3 separate regions of the Homo sapiens genome follow, and all the other regions are linked to region 2. Evidence: promoter capture Hi-C in 16 types of primary human blood cells and fetal thymus (Javierre and others, 2016). All regions are on one chromosome and are shown on one strand. The core of a region is centred on a gene start or on the middle of the fragment in contact, and the rest is flanking DNA. Distances in the headings are between cores, read along the strand shown.

Region 1 (3,963 bases), core at 677-3,176, 190 kb before region 2:
CAACAGTAAACTAAACAGGGGGAATGGGAACTAGTCTATTAGCAACTACTAACAACAGAGGTGACAGCCCGTAGCCTGGCAGAGGTGAGATGCAGAAAAATTAGGAAGAACAAATCCCGAGAAAGTCAAAACAGTGGCCTGGGGCCATTGAGCTAAGGGCTAAGAAGTTCCTCATTCACCTCCTGGGGATGAAGTTGCTACTACTCATAATGCATTCTGAAAAGAAAGGCAGGTCATTTATAAAGATTTCAAAACATAAAGAGATGAATTTTGTTGCCTAGAAAATCCCCTGAGCAGGCTGGGAAATGAGGCCATACTGAACATGGCAAGAGTACCCACCTAGAATTAGAGAGCCTGCAGCCCACGCCCAGGTCAGGGAACATGGAGGGCCACAAAGGGAGGGTGGGCAAGAGGAGAGAGGAACACTCTCGGTAAAGGATCACTGACAACCACAGGCGGCGTCATCTACATCCCTCAGCACACTCTGGTGCCTGACCCCAACAACAGAGGAAAAGAAGGCACGATGAACTTCACCTTCCTCTTTTCTATCCACCACTCCATTCGCTACTTCATATGGTATTGGAGGGTGTCAGATAATTACTAAATTTACCAAGAGTTTCCAGGTAGCCTGAGCACTAGACAAGTGATAAACTCTTTAAAGTTAATGATCTCAAAACATGGCAATTGTACCTGGTGGGGTTTTTTGTTTGTTTGTTTGTTTGTTTGAGACAGGGTCTCACCCTGCCGTGCAGGCTGGAGAGCTCACTGCAGCCTCGACTTCCTGGGCTCAAGTTTTCCTCCAGCCTCAGCATCTCAAGAAGTAGCGGAGACTACAGGCATGAGTCACCATGCCTGGCTAAGTTTTTTATTTTTATTTTTTTTGAGATGGGGAGTATCACTATGTTGCCCCGGTTGGTCTTGAAATCCTGGCCTAAAACAATTCTCCCACCTTGGCCTCCCAAAGTGCTGAAATTACAGACATGAACCACCGCGCCTGGCCCAATCATATCCTTTTAAAGCATGATCTATCCTGATTCCAACAACACGTATAATTGTGGAAACCATACAACTTATTTATGTTTCTTTAAAAGCATTTACCTCTTCTCTCTCTAGCCATCCGTCCACCACCACCAAAGAACATGTCAAAGATGTCCATGGGTGAAGAGAAGCTGGGGCTGCCTGAGCCTCCTTCTTTAATTGCCTGCTCTCCGCCTTGGTCATAAACATCCCTTTTCTTTGGATCTGAAAGCACTTCATATGCCTGGGATATGAGTTTAAACTTTAAAAGAGAGAGAGAGAGAGATTTTTAGAGAAGTTTCAGTTGTTTTGTTAAGCAAACCTGCCATATAAACATACAAAGTAATAGAGGTATTCTGCCCCCAAACCCTTGAACTAGCCAGTCTATACATCCTCTACCTGGAATCTGACTTGCCTGTCTACCTACTCCTTTGGTAAAGTGGGAAACACAGGGCAAACATATTAAGGGACTGGTGGTAGGGACACGATAAGAATAAGGGAGAGAAGCCAGTAGAGAGGGAAAGTTTCTCACTAATCCGGCTGCACCAGACAGGAAGTCGAGACCAGCTAGGATACCATGAGACAGTGCCAGGGGTGAACCTCTAACCAGATAGAGCCAGGACTCTGGGCATTACCACTGGCTCACCTCCTCATGGGAATCATTTCACTAGTTTACTAGAATGAAATTCAACTACAGGCATCTGTGAGCATCTAACCACGTGCCAGACATTGGATACAAACCTATACTCCTGATCCTCCCCCAAAAGCCCCGCCCCACCCATAGTCTTCCCCATATCACAGTTATTGGCAATGCCAATCTCACCTGTCAACAAATCCCACTGATGCTACCTTCACATTTGCATCTCCAGTACCCTAAGACAGACACAATATCCCATGTGTAGCATTCCTGCCAAAAAGTTACCACTGGAACCCAATTGTACGAAAAGAATCAGAAAACCCAAATTGAGAGATACTCTAAAATTAAAAGATAGAAAAAAACGAATACAATGTGTGATCCTGGATCAGATCCTGCACAGGGGAGAAAAAAAAAAATGGCTACAAAGGACATTATTGGAACAATGGGAGAAATGTGAATCTTTGTTCCCAATGTTAAACTTCTTGAATTTGATAACTTTACTATGGTTATGTACAAGGATGTCCTTGTGCCCAAGAGAAACACGCAGCACTTAGGGCTGAAAGGTTATGCTATAGGTAGCTTCCTCCCAAAATCTTTAGCCAACAGTAATAATAATAATAGATAAAACAAATGTGACAACTTATTTATAACTGGTAAAGCTAGGTGAAGAATACATAGGTGTTCATTGTATCACTCATGTTTTCTGCAGGTATATGGACATTTTTAAAATAAAATCAGAATGCGAAAACATGCAAGATCTGTTCCTTCTTACCACACCACATCCACTCTGGCTGAAGGCACCATCTCAGGCCTGGACCACTGCAGTGGCCTCCTCCGTGGTCTTCCATGTGCCCTCCTCACCCCAGCTTTCAGTGTGTTCTCCACTCGAGCCCACTAATTGGGTCGATCCTCTGCTCAAACCTCTACAAGGTGGCCCACGTCACTGGGAGTAAAAGCCAGTCCTAACTTTCATCTATAAGCCCAACTTGGCACCTGTACTTTCCTCTCCTCCTGTGTGTCCCCACCCCAATTCTATGCCAGTTTCAGCAGGCTCCCTGCTGTTCCTCAACTCTGCAGTCTGGGCCTCAGAGGCACCTCAGCCTGGTGCGGCCTCCCGACTCATCTCTTTCCAGCCTTAGCTCACAGACCACCTTCTCAGGGATGCCTCCTGGTGATCCAGCTTTAACACTGCAAACCCACCTCAGACCCTCCCAGCCCCCACAACTGCTGCATATTTCTCCATATCATGAACCACCTTCTAACAAGCTGCATCATCTACTGCTTATGCTGTAGCCCCCACTGCAACATAAGCTCCATGAAGATGGGGGGTTTTGTCCACTGCTGTCTAACTGAGCCTGGAACCATGCCTGGCATGTAGAAGGCACTTGGTAAATACCTGTTAGATGAATGGCTCGATTCTGGGAACTCAGAAATAAATAAATGAGGTAGGATCTTGGCCCTCCAGAGGCTACAGTTTAGTCGGAGAGACAAATATGGATATATAGATAAACAGATCCTATAATGCAGCTGGCTCCAAAAAATATTCAGGGAAAAAAAGTGCCATGAAATAAGGAATTTGAGAGAGAGAACAAGGGAATTTGAGGCATTAATTCCCTTGTTCTACAGATCCCTGATTGAAATCTAATAAGTAACCAATAATAATAGCTAATAAATAGCTAAAAAACTACAATTTAGAAAAGTCTTAAAAAGACATCAGCATCATATATAAGGCAGCTAGATCTTTTGATATGTTAATTCTCATACCATTTCTGCGAAGAAGTAAGTACCATTCACTACTATCCCTTTCCTCAGCAGAAAACATGAGGTAGAGTGTAAGGATTGGGTGCCTGGTACAGATCAGAAAGCAACTAGGCCAGGCTGCCCCTAGACAGTTTCTGCGTCTATCTGCAGGTCAGGACTAGGTAAATAACTTCATGGGAACGTCCACCGGAAACACTCACCAAATACCCTGGATACTCACATGTCATTTAGACTTAATAGAATGATCTAAGAATGGAAAAGGAGTACCCAGTTGCTTGGGACATTCAGTCAGAGGCCAGATCTCACATGGGATGGGGGTTCCAACTACCAGTAGGGAGTCCATCCTCTAGGGTCCCAGCACTCCAAAGTCTAATTCAGCTCCCGGCCCGGACCCCCTTCTCCCAGTGGGAGACGAGTGCTATGATGAGCTTGCCTTTCAGACCATGATCATTTGCCACAGAACCTTAACAGGATTACTATACAGCTGAGGGGAAAATGGCTTTGAAGACTACGTAACAACTTGGGAAAAGTACTTATAATAAAATATT
Region 2 (3,894 bases), core at 1,189-3,688:
GAGAGATGGGCTACACCCTCCCCTGTCCTGTTGCCTCCCTGTACCATGGCAATACAGACCGGGTTCTCCCAGCTCTTCCCTTTCCCACAGTATTTCAAGGTCAGACCTCACCCTGACTGCCTACCCCACAAGCCAATTAGTCACAGCCCCTTTTACATACATGGTGAGGCCCAAATTGAACTTGGGACCCCTTGCTCCCGAGAGCAGCCCACTCCACTCCCGCAGCACCGCAGTGTCTGGCCTCCCTTGTCTGGGCCCGGTCTGACTGTTGGATTCCCCCTCTCCGAATCTGCTGACTGATGAGGAAGACATCGGTGTTAACTGCAAGATGATAATAATAACAGCTGATATGTGCTGAGTGCTTACTATGTGTGAGGCACCGTGCTAAGCACTTTCATATGCATTTCTCACGTAACCCTTTCAATAACAACAGCACGAGATAGCTACTTGTATTTATCAACCCTGTTTTATAAATGAAGAGACTGAGGCCCAGAGAGGTTAAATCACTTGCCCAAGGTCATGCCTCTGGTAAGTGGCAGAGCTAGGAGACACATCTGGTCAGTGTGAAGTCAGAGCCCAGTCCTTAACACTGTGCTGATTGTGCTCAAAGACAGGTGGAGAGGTCAGCCACACCTCTGATGGGCCCCAGGAAAGGAATGCTTGCGTGGTGCCACTTTAGGGCCTGCAGAGAGTCGGCAGGCTGGGTGAGGACCCAGAACCTGCCCTTCCTACCTGGGTGGCTCCAAACAGGCAGTCTAATTTGTGTCCCTGTCCAGCTCAGAAAGGTCAGTTTTCCACCTGGGTCTTTCAGTGTGTCTGTATAAAACATGCAAATCTATGAGGGTGAGATATTTGGTTTGGGCTTTCACAAATGTAGCTATGTAGCTATACACTTCCTTTTTCCTTTGAATAAAGTGAGCTCTTGTACTCACTATTCCCTCTCCCTGGAATGCTTCACCCACATTTCTGGTTGCCCCTGTCCCTCCCATCATCTGGGTTTGTGCTCCATGTCACAGGATCAGACCAGCCTCCTTGCCTGTCCTGGGGCAGCAGCCTGCTATCTGCCCCCCATCACTTCATCCTCTCACTTTGCTTTTTACTTATTTTTTATTCTTGTGGGAACATAGTAGGTGTATATATTTATGGGTTACATGAGATATTTTAATACAGGCATGCAATGCATAATAATCAAATCAGGGTAAGTAAGGTATCCATCACCTCAAGCATTTATCCTTTGTGTTACAAACAATCCTATTATACTTTTTTTTTTCTTTTTAGACAGAGTTTTGCTCTTGTTGCCCAGGCTGGAGTGCAATGGCGCAACCTCGGCTCACTGCAACCTCCACCTCCGGGGTTCAAGAGATTCTCTTGCTTCAGCCTCCCGAGTAGCTGGGATTACAGGCATGCACCACCACGCCCAGCTAATTTTGTATTTTTAGTAGAGACAGGGTTTCTTCATGTTGGTCAGGCTGGTCTCGAACTCCCGACCTCAGGTGATCCACCCACCTCGGCCTCCCAAACTGCTGGGATTACAGGCGTGAACCACCGCGTCTGTATTATACTCTTTTGGTTATTTTTAAACGTACAATTATATTATTTTTGACTGTAGTCACCCTGTTGTGCTAGCAAATACTTGGTCTTATTCATTCTTTCTCTTTGCTTTATTACAAAGCAATAGATTTGCCTTCTCAGGTTGTGAGTGTTCAAATAAGTTAGTCTATAAAGCACTGATAAATACTAGGTGCTATTTTAAGCGGTAATCATTTACATGTCATCACGGCATTTATACAACATAGCACACATTACTTTTATCTGCTTTCTTGTGTGTCACCTCCCTGCCTTACTAGAATATAACCTCCACGAGGGCAGGAGAATGATTGGTTTGTTCACTGCTGTATCCGCCAGGGCCTGGCATACAGAACCGTACCCGGCATTCAGAAGGCGCTCAATAAATATATGTTGAATTCAATAAATGAACTGAGGTCTGGAGAGGCAGGAAACGCTTTGGCTTTCATGAATTCTGCAAATATTTACTGAGCACCCACTCAGCACCAGGCAATAGGCTGTCTCATTTTTACAATATTAGCTTGAGACTCTGGCAGGAGGGAGATTTAAATATCAAGTTTTTAGAATAAGATACACAGTGTGAAATGCAGTTTTAAGCGGACACTCCGCTGGGTTTTGAGAGATGCACACTCCCATGTACCTACACTGCCATAAAGAAATAGACCATTGCTTCATCCGGCAGGGCGAGGACTTGGAGCCCAGGTGGCACGAAGGCAACTGACCCGCGGGGTGCTGGTCGCAGGACCCTGCCTCCGGGGGCTGAGGGGGCAACGGCCGGCGGGCGGGCGGGGGCGAGACTACAAGTCCCAGGGTGCTTTGCGCGCCCGCGGGCCGTGCGGAGCGAAGGGGCGGTGCGGAGGGGGTAGGGGGCGCAGCGGCCGCGGCGCGGAGGCGCAGGGCGCGGGCGCCTACGGTTGGCGCGCGGTAGCGATGCCGGGGGCCGGAGCCCGGGCGGAGGAGGGCGGCGGCGGCGGCGAGGGCGCGGCGCAGGGGGCGGCCGCGGAGCCCGGGGCGGGTCCGGCGCGGGAGCCAGCGCGGCTGTGTGGCTATCTGCAGAAGCTGTCGGGCAAGGGCCCCCTGCGTGGCTACCGCAGCCGCTGGTTCGTGTTCGACGCGCGCCGCTGCTACCTTTACTATTTCAAGAGTCCGCAGGACGCGCTGCCCCTCGGCCACTTGGACATCGCGGACGCCTGCTTCAGCTACCAGGGCCCCGACGAGGCGGCGGAGCCGGGCACGGAGCCGCCCGCGCACTTCCAGGTGCACAGCGCGGGAGCCGTCACGGTGCTCAAGGTGGGACCGCTCGCCCCAAAGCCGCCCGCGCGCTTCCGCCGGCGTCCCCTGCCTCCGCCACTGGCTTGCGCCATCCACCCTCCTTCCTCCAAGGCCTCCTCGCCCCTGCCCACGTCGGCCTGCCTTTCCCTGCTTCTCCACATCCCGCCCTCGTTCCTATCTCCTCCCCACTATCTGGGCTTAGGCCAGTCTCGCTGGGGCTACCAAGCCCCGTCTCCTTTCTCAGACACCTTGACCCATTATCTCCCTCTGCGCCTAACCTCGGGCCAGTCTCTGGTGTCTCCCGACCCCCACCATCCCGTGGATGTCCTGTGCAGCCTTCCCAGGCATCCGTGAGCGTAGGCTTCTACCCCTGGGGCCTCCTTTAGAACTTTGCCTATGGCCTTGGTACCTCAGTGAACCGCTCTGGGCTGCAGCGGCCTCCTCTGTAAAATGGGATAACAGTAGTATCTACCTCATGGGGTGTTGGGATTAAATGAATTATACTTTAAACTGCTCAGTAAATGTCAGTGCTTTTATTTATTTGTTTATTTATTCTTTTTGAGACAGGATCTTGTTCTGTTGTCCAGGCTGGAGTGCAGGGGTGCGATCTCGGCTCACTGCAGCCTCCATGCCTGGGCTCAAGAGATCCTCCCACCTCAGCCTCCCAAGTAGCTGGGACCACAGGTGCGGGCCACCACGCCTGGCTAATTAAATTTTTTTTTTTTTTTAAAGAAACGGGGGTCTCACTATGTTGCCCAGGCTAGTCTCGAACTCCTGGGCCGAAACCATCCTCCCCATCCAGCTTCCCAAAGTGCTGGGATGCCAGGCGTGAGCCAGAGTGCATTTAGCACTGTAGACAGAAAGAGTCAGATGGCAGGGCCCTTAGAGACAGTCCACTACATTTTCCTCCAGAGTGGACGGGGATGCTCCAGCTAAGGTCACACAGCCAGTAGGTGGCAGATCCTGTGTTCTTCCTCCTTGCTTTGTCCAGGATGGGTGGGAGGGGGTCTTTTCAGCCAGTTATGCCTTGCTCCTTTGAGGCTCCCTTAATCCTCC
Region 3 (4,210 bases), core at 703-3,202, 170 kb before region 2:
GCGTGTTGCATACTTGGAATTCTCTAAGAGTAGATCTTAAGTGTCCTCACCACACACACAAAAAGTAACTATATGAGCGGATGGATGTGTTCATTAGCTTGATTGTGGTAATCACTTTACAATGTATACATATATCACATTATCACATTGTACACCTTAAATATGTATACATTTTTTGGTCAATTCTACTGCAATAAAACCGGAAGAAAAAAGAAATTATCTCTCCTGGGGAGGGAGAGGGGTGAGCCCAGCCATAGGAAATGCCTGCCTCCCATGACAAGGTTCAGGGACAAGATCCGGCCTCTCCTGGCCCTGGTGCGGCCAGGGATGAGGGCATGATCTGGGGATTCCTAACAAGATAGATGCGTTCTTCTAGGACACTGGATCCTGAGAGAGTGACATCAAGAGGAATTGGAGGAGCCAAGAGGAATTGGAGGCGATTCTTGACAGCTGTGATGGGGCTGGGGGTGACAGGTGGGCTCTGCCTGGCTGACGAGGTGGTCGCCATGTGTATTGCTTCCTGCTTCCTGACTCCCTGGAGCTCCCTGGAAACTGCTCAATCTCAAGCCTGGTGCCCCAGCCTCCTGTCAATTCTGCGAGTCCTCCAACAGCCTTTTGTTAGGTATGGCTATGTGACTGAATTCTGGCCAACGGAAAGAGAAGGAACAGTATGGACACCCCTTCAGGTCCGCAGAATCCTCTGCATGCTCTCTTCGCCCGCCTGCTAGCTACATGTTGGCTGGTCACCTAGGAAGCCAGGCATTGAATGGGTGGGGCCACCCTTGGCCTGGGTCCTGTACTGAGTGACTGTGATCCAGAGCTGCCTCCACTCCCCTCTATCCAGCAGGAACCACTGTGTCGGGCTTTATGTGGGCAAGAAATACATTTGTGTTGTATAAAGCAACTGTTATTTGGGGATTTTCCTAGTACAGCAGCCAACTGTGCCTTAACTAATGTAGCTAGCCAGAGCCAGTTTCTGTTGCCTGCAACCAAACATCCTGGCTGATCAAATATACCTGGTGATCACATATATAAATCTGAAGTACATACACAAAAATGTTAACAATAGCAATCTCCAGATGATGAAATGATGAGTGAGTCTTCTTTTCTTTTGAAACAGGTCTTGGTCTGTCACCCAGGCTGGAGTGCAGTGGTCCAGTCATGGCTCACTGCAGCCTCAACCTCCTAAACTCAAGTGATCCTCTCGCCTCAGCTTCCCTAGTAGCTGGGACTGAAGTCTTGCTTCACCCTACCCAGCTAATTTTAAAAAAAATTTTTTTGTAGAGACAGCATCTTGCCATGTTGCCCAGGCTGGTCTCGAACTCCTGGATTCATACTATCCTCCCACCTCGGCCTCCCAAAGTATTGAGATTACAAGCATGAACCATTGCATCTGGCTGAGTCTTACTTTCTTTTTCTTTTCTTTTTTTTTTTTTTTTTAATGAGACGGGGTCTCGCTCTGTCGCCCTGTCTGGAGTGCAATGGCACAATCTCGGCTCACTGCAACCTCTGTTTCCCCAGTTCAAGTGATTCTCCTGCCTCAGCCTCCCAAGTAGCTGGGATTACAGGCACACGCCACCACACCTGGCTAATTTTTGTATTTTTAGTAGAAGTGGGGTTTCACCATGTTGGCCAGGCTGGTCTCGAACTCCTGACCTCAGGTGATCCACCCACCTCGACCTCGAAAACTGCTGGGATTACAGGCATGAGCCACCACACCCAGCCTTGTTTTCTTATTTTGCTTTTCTATGCATTTCAGTTTTTTTACGGGAACATATGTGCCTTATGTAGTTAGAAAAGAAAACCATTTAAAATAAGCAGATTTGGATTCTCTGAGAACGAATCAGAGACAGAGAAACACTAGCCTCCACACAAAAGGCCAGAGAATCCGGAGAGTCCATTGGATTTGCAAAAGCAGTGGCCCATGGCTCTTGGGGTCTTCTCTGAGCGACTTGGCTTCAACTCCAGCAGTTTCTCCAGCTGTTTCTCACACGTCAAGATCCTTACCCATTTCTCATGTCCTCTCATACTGAGCTGTGCGCAGTATGAAAGGCTGGACCTCCATTCAGCTTATCAAGGCTCTCCTGGCATCTGCTGTTCACACAAGGCAGTGGGAAACCACATGGAAGGGATGACAGACCCCCAAGGCATTAGCCCAGGCCCCTCGCCAGAGGGCCATAGAGCAGCCGCCTCACCCTGCGATCCCTCCCCAACCCCCACTCTCTGGGCCTCATGGGCAGGGGCAGGCCTGAGGCCCCCCTTGGTGAGGTGAGGCTCTCAGGATAAGGTCCCTGTGATCTGTAAAGGTGGGGTCTGCTTTCCCAGGGCTCCCAGCTTCCAACAGCTGGGGGCATTTTTCACTTCATCTTCCCATCCGTCCAGTAGGGTGGGCATGGGCGCCTGCACTTTACTAGTAACAGAAGGAAGAGTGCGGGAGGTGCAGTAATTTGCCCAAGTTCAGGAACAGCTAAAGTGGGGACCCTGCCAAAACCCACCATGTTCTTTCCAGTCCACCACACACCTGTCTCTGAGGCCAAGGTCAAATAATTGGGCCGTTAGTAATGGAGCCAAATCATCGCATGACCACTGTAACAAGGAAGCAGGAAAACATCTCCAGTTCCAACAAAGTCTTGGGCTCTCTCTCTCTCTCTCTCTTTCTCTCTCTCTCTCTCTCTCTTTAAAATAAGGACTCAGGTTAGCTACAGTTCCAGCATTCTGCTGAATTTCTGCAAAAATCATATAACCCACATATACACCCTCCCAATTCATGGATAGAGGAAACTGAGACCCAAAAAGGGGCCACAACTTGCCCAGTGTGCACAGCATCATAATCTAGGCACGTTAAGGCTGGAACCTGGGCCTTCTAACTCTAAGCCAATGCCTCCTACATCACACAGCCACCAGAATAACCCCCAGCACTGTAGTACATTCATTAATAATTTAAAAAATAAACTTACCATAATATAAGGTACACAAAGAAAATGCACAATCCATAAGTGTGTAGTACAATAAATTGTTACAAAGCAGACACGCCTATTTAACCCCCGCCCTGAATCAGAAAGAAAACATTGCCAGCACTCCAGAAGCCCCTGTGCCATCTCCCAATCACTATGCCCTCCAGGTTGCCCCAGGGGAACCCTATCCTGACTTCCAGCATGCAGATTCATTTTGCCTCTTTGTGAACATTAAGTACACAGAGCCATGTAATAGATCTTTTGTATCTGGCTTCATTTGCTCAATATCAAGTTGGTGAGAATTATCAATGTTGCTGGGTTTCATGATGGCTCATTCATTCTCATTGCTGTTCAGTGTTCTGTTGTAGGAACATACCACAGTTTAGCCACCCATTCTACTCTTGGTGGACATTGGGGTTGCTTCTAGTTTGAGGCTATTATGACTCTGCCACAAACATTCTGGGGTGTATATTTTAGCACATGTATGTTCACACTTCTCTTGGATATACCCTTGGGAGTGGAACTGGGGTATGGGCTGGGGGTGGCACCTCAATGCCCCTCTTACCTTCTTCCAGCACACTACTCCCACCAGTGGAGACTCCTGCTTGGTGCTTTGAGAAACCTCAGGTGACCCCCACCCCACCCCACCCCTCATTCCTATGAGACCCTTAGGCTGCCCTGCTGAGAAAGGGCAGTGGACAGCCATGGCATAAATTTGCTGTAGCCACGTGGCTGCTGGGCTGGCTCTGGCACAGCTGTTGAAAAGTGCTCTCCTCTGAGCCCTTCAGATAAGTCTTTTCTCAATTAAACAAAAGCTCTGCAGCTGCCAGTTAGGAACTGCTTCTGTTTGGGCTGCCAGTTAGTGATAATCTGCTCATCCTGCACTGTCTTCTAATCCAGTGTGGCAGCTGGAGTGGCCTCCAATGATGCTACAGCCCCACCCAAGGCAGGGGCTGCACCTCTCTTTTGCACTATCTCCCCTTGGCCTAGCATGGTCCTGGCATGCAGAAAGCTTGGTAAATATTTGAATCCAGCTTTCTAAAATGCCAATCGGACAATGTTGCTGGAAGCCCCAGTGCCCATGTGGTGCTCAGGTAAGGGTGCTGTATTAATTTCCTGTAACTGCTCTAGCAAATGACCACACTTAGTGGTTTGAAACAACATACACTTATCACACAGGTCAGAAATCCAAAGCAAGTCTCACTGAGCTAAAAATCAAGGTGTTCACAGGGCTGTATTCCTCCCGGAGGCTCTAG

Evidence for each region. Contacts are between HindIII fragments. The CHiCAGO score rates a contact against its expected background, and 5 or more counts as called.
Region 1: a contact is called between a fragment that was not itself captured here and the fragment with the promoter of TBC1D2B in region 2, in 2 of 17 cell types (total CD8 T cells and non-activated CD4 T cells). The highest score is 6.4, in total CD8 T cells.
Region 3: a fragment that was not itself captured here is called in contact with the fragment with the promoter of TBC1D2B in region 2 in 4 of 17 cell types (total CD8 T cells, activated CD4 T cells, fetal thymus and 1 more); the score reaches 5.7 in total CD8 T cells.

Annotation. Positions count from the first base shown.
Region 1 is chr15:78,267,813-78,271,775 of GRCh38, reverse strand. DNAJA4 (DnaJ heat shock protein family (Hsp40) member A4) reads right to left here. Exons shown (of 7, transcript NM_001130182.2): 2 at 1,099-1,279. Among named protein-coding and RNA genes, the nearest start is that of DNAJA4, 5.2 kb to the right of the region's middle. The HindIII fragment of the contact is 4,210 bases long and covers 1-3,963 here.
Region 2 is chr15:78,076,255-78,080,148 of GRCh38, reverse strand. It overlaps TBC1D2B (TBC1 domain family member 2B), which reads left to right and starts at 2,438. Exons shown (of 13, transcript NM_144572.2): 1 at 2,438-2,856. The coding sequence starts at 2,497. RefSeq lists silencers at 2,153-2,202, 2,353-2,562, 2,763-2,962. The HindIII fragment of the contact is 13,244 bases long and covers 1-3,894 here.
Region 3 is chr15:78,247,684-78,251,893 of GRCh38, reverse strand. No RefSeq gene overlaps it. Among named protein-coding and RNA genes, the nearest start is that of DNAJA4-DT, 14 kb to the left of the region's middle. The HindIII fragment of the contact is 4,032 bases long and covers 1-3,968 here.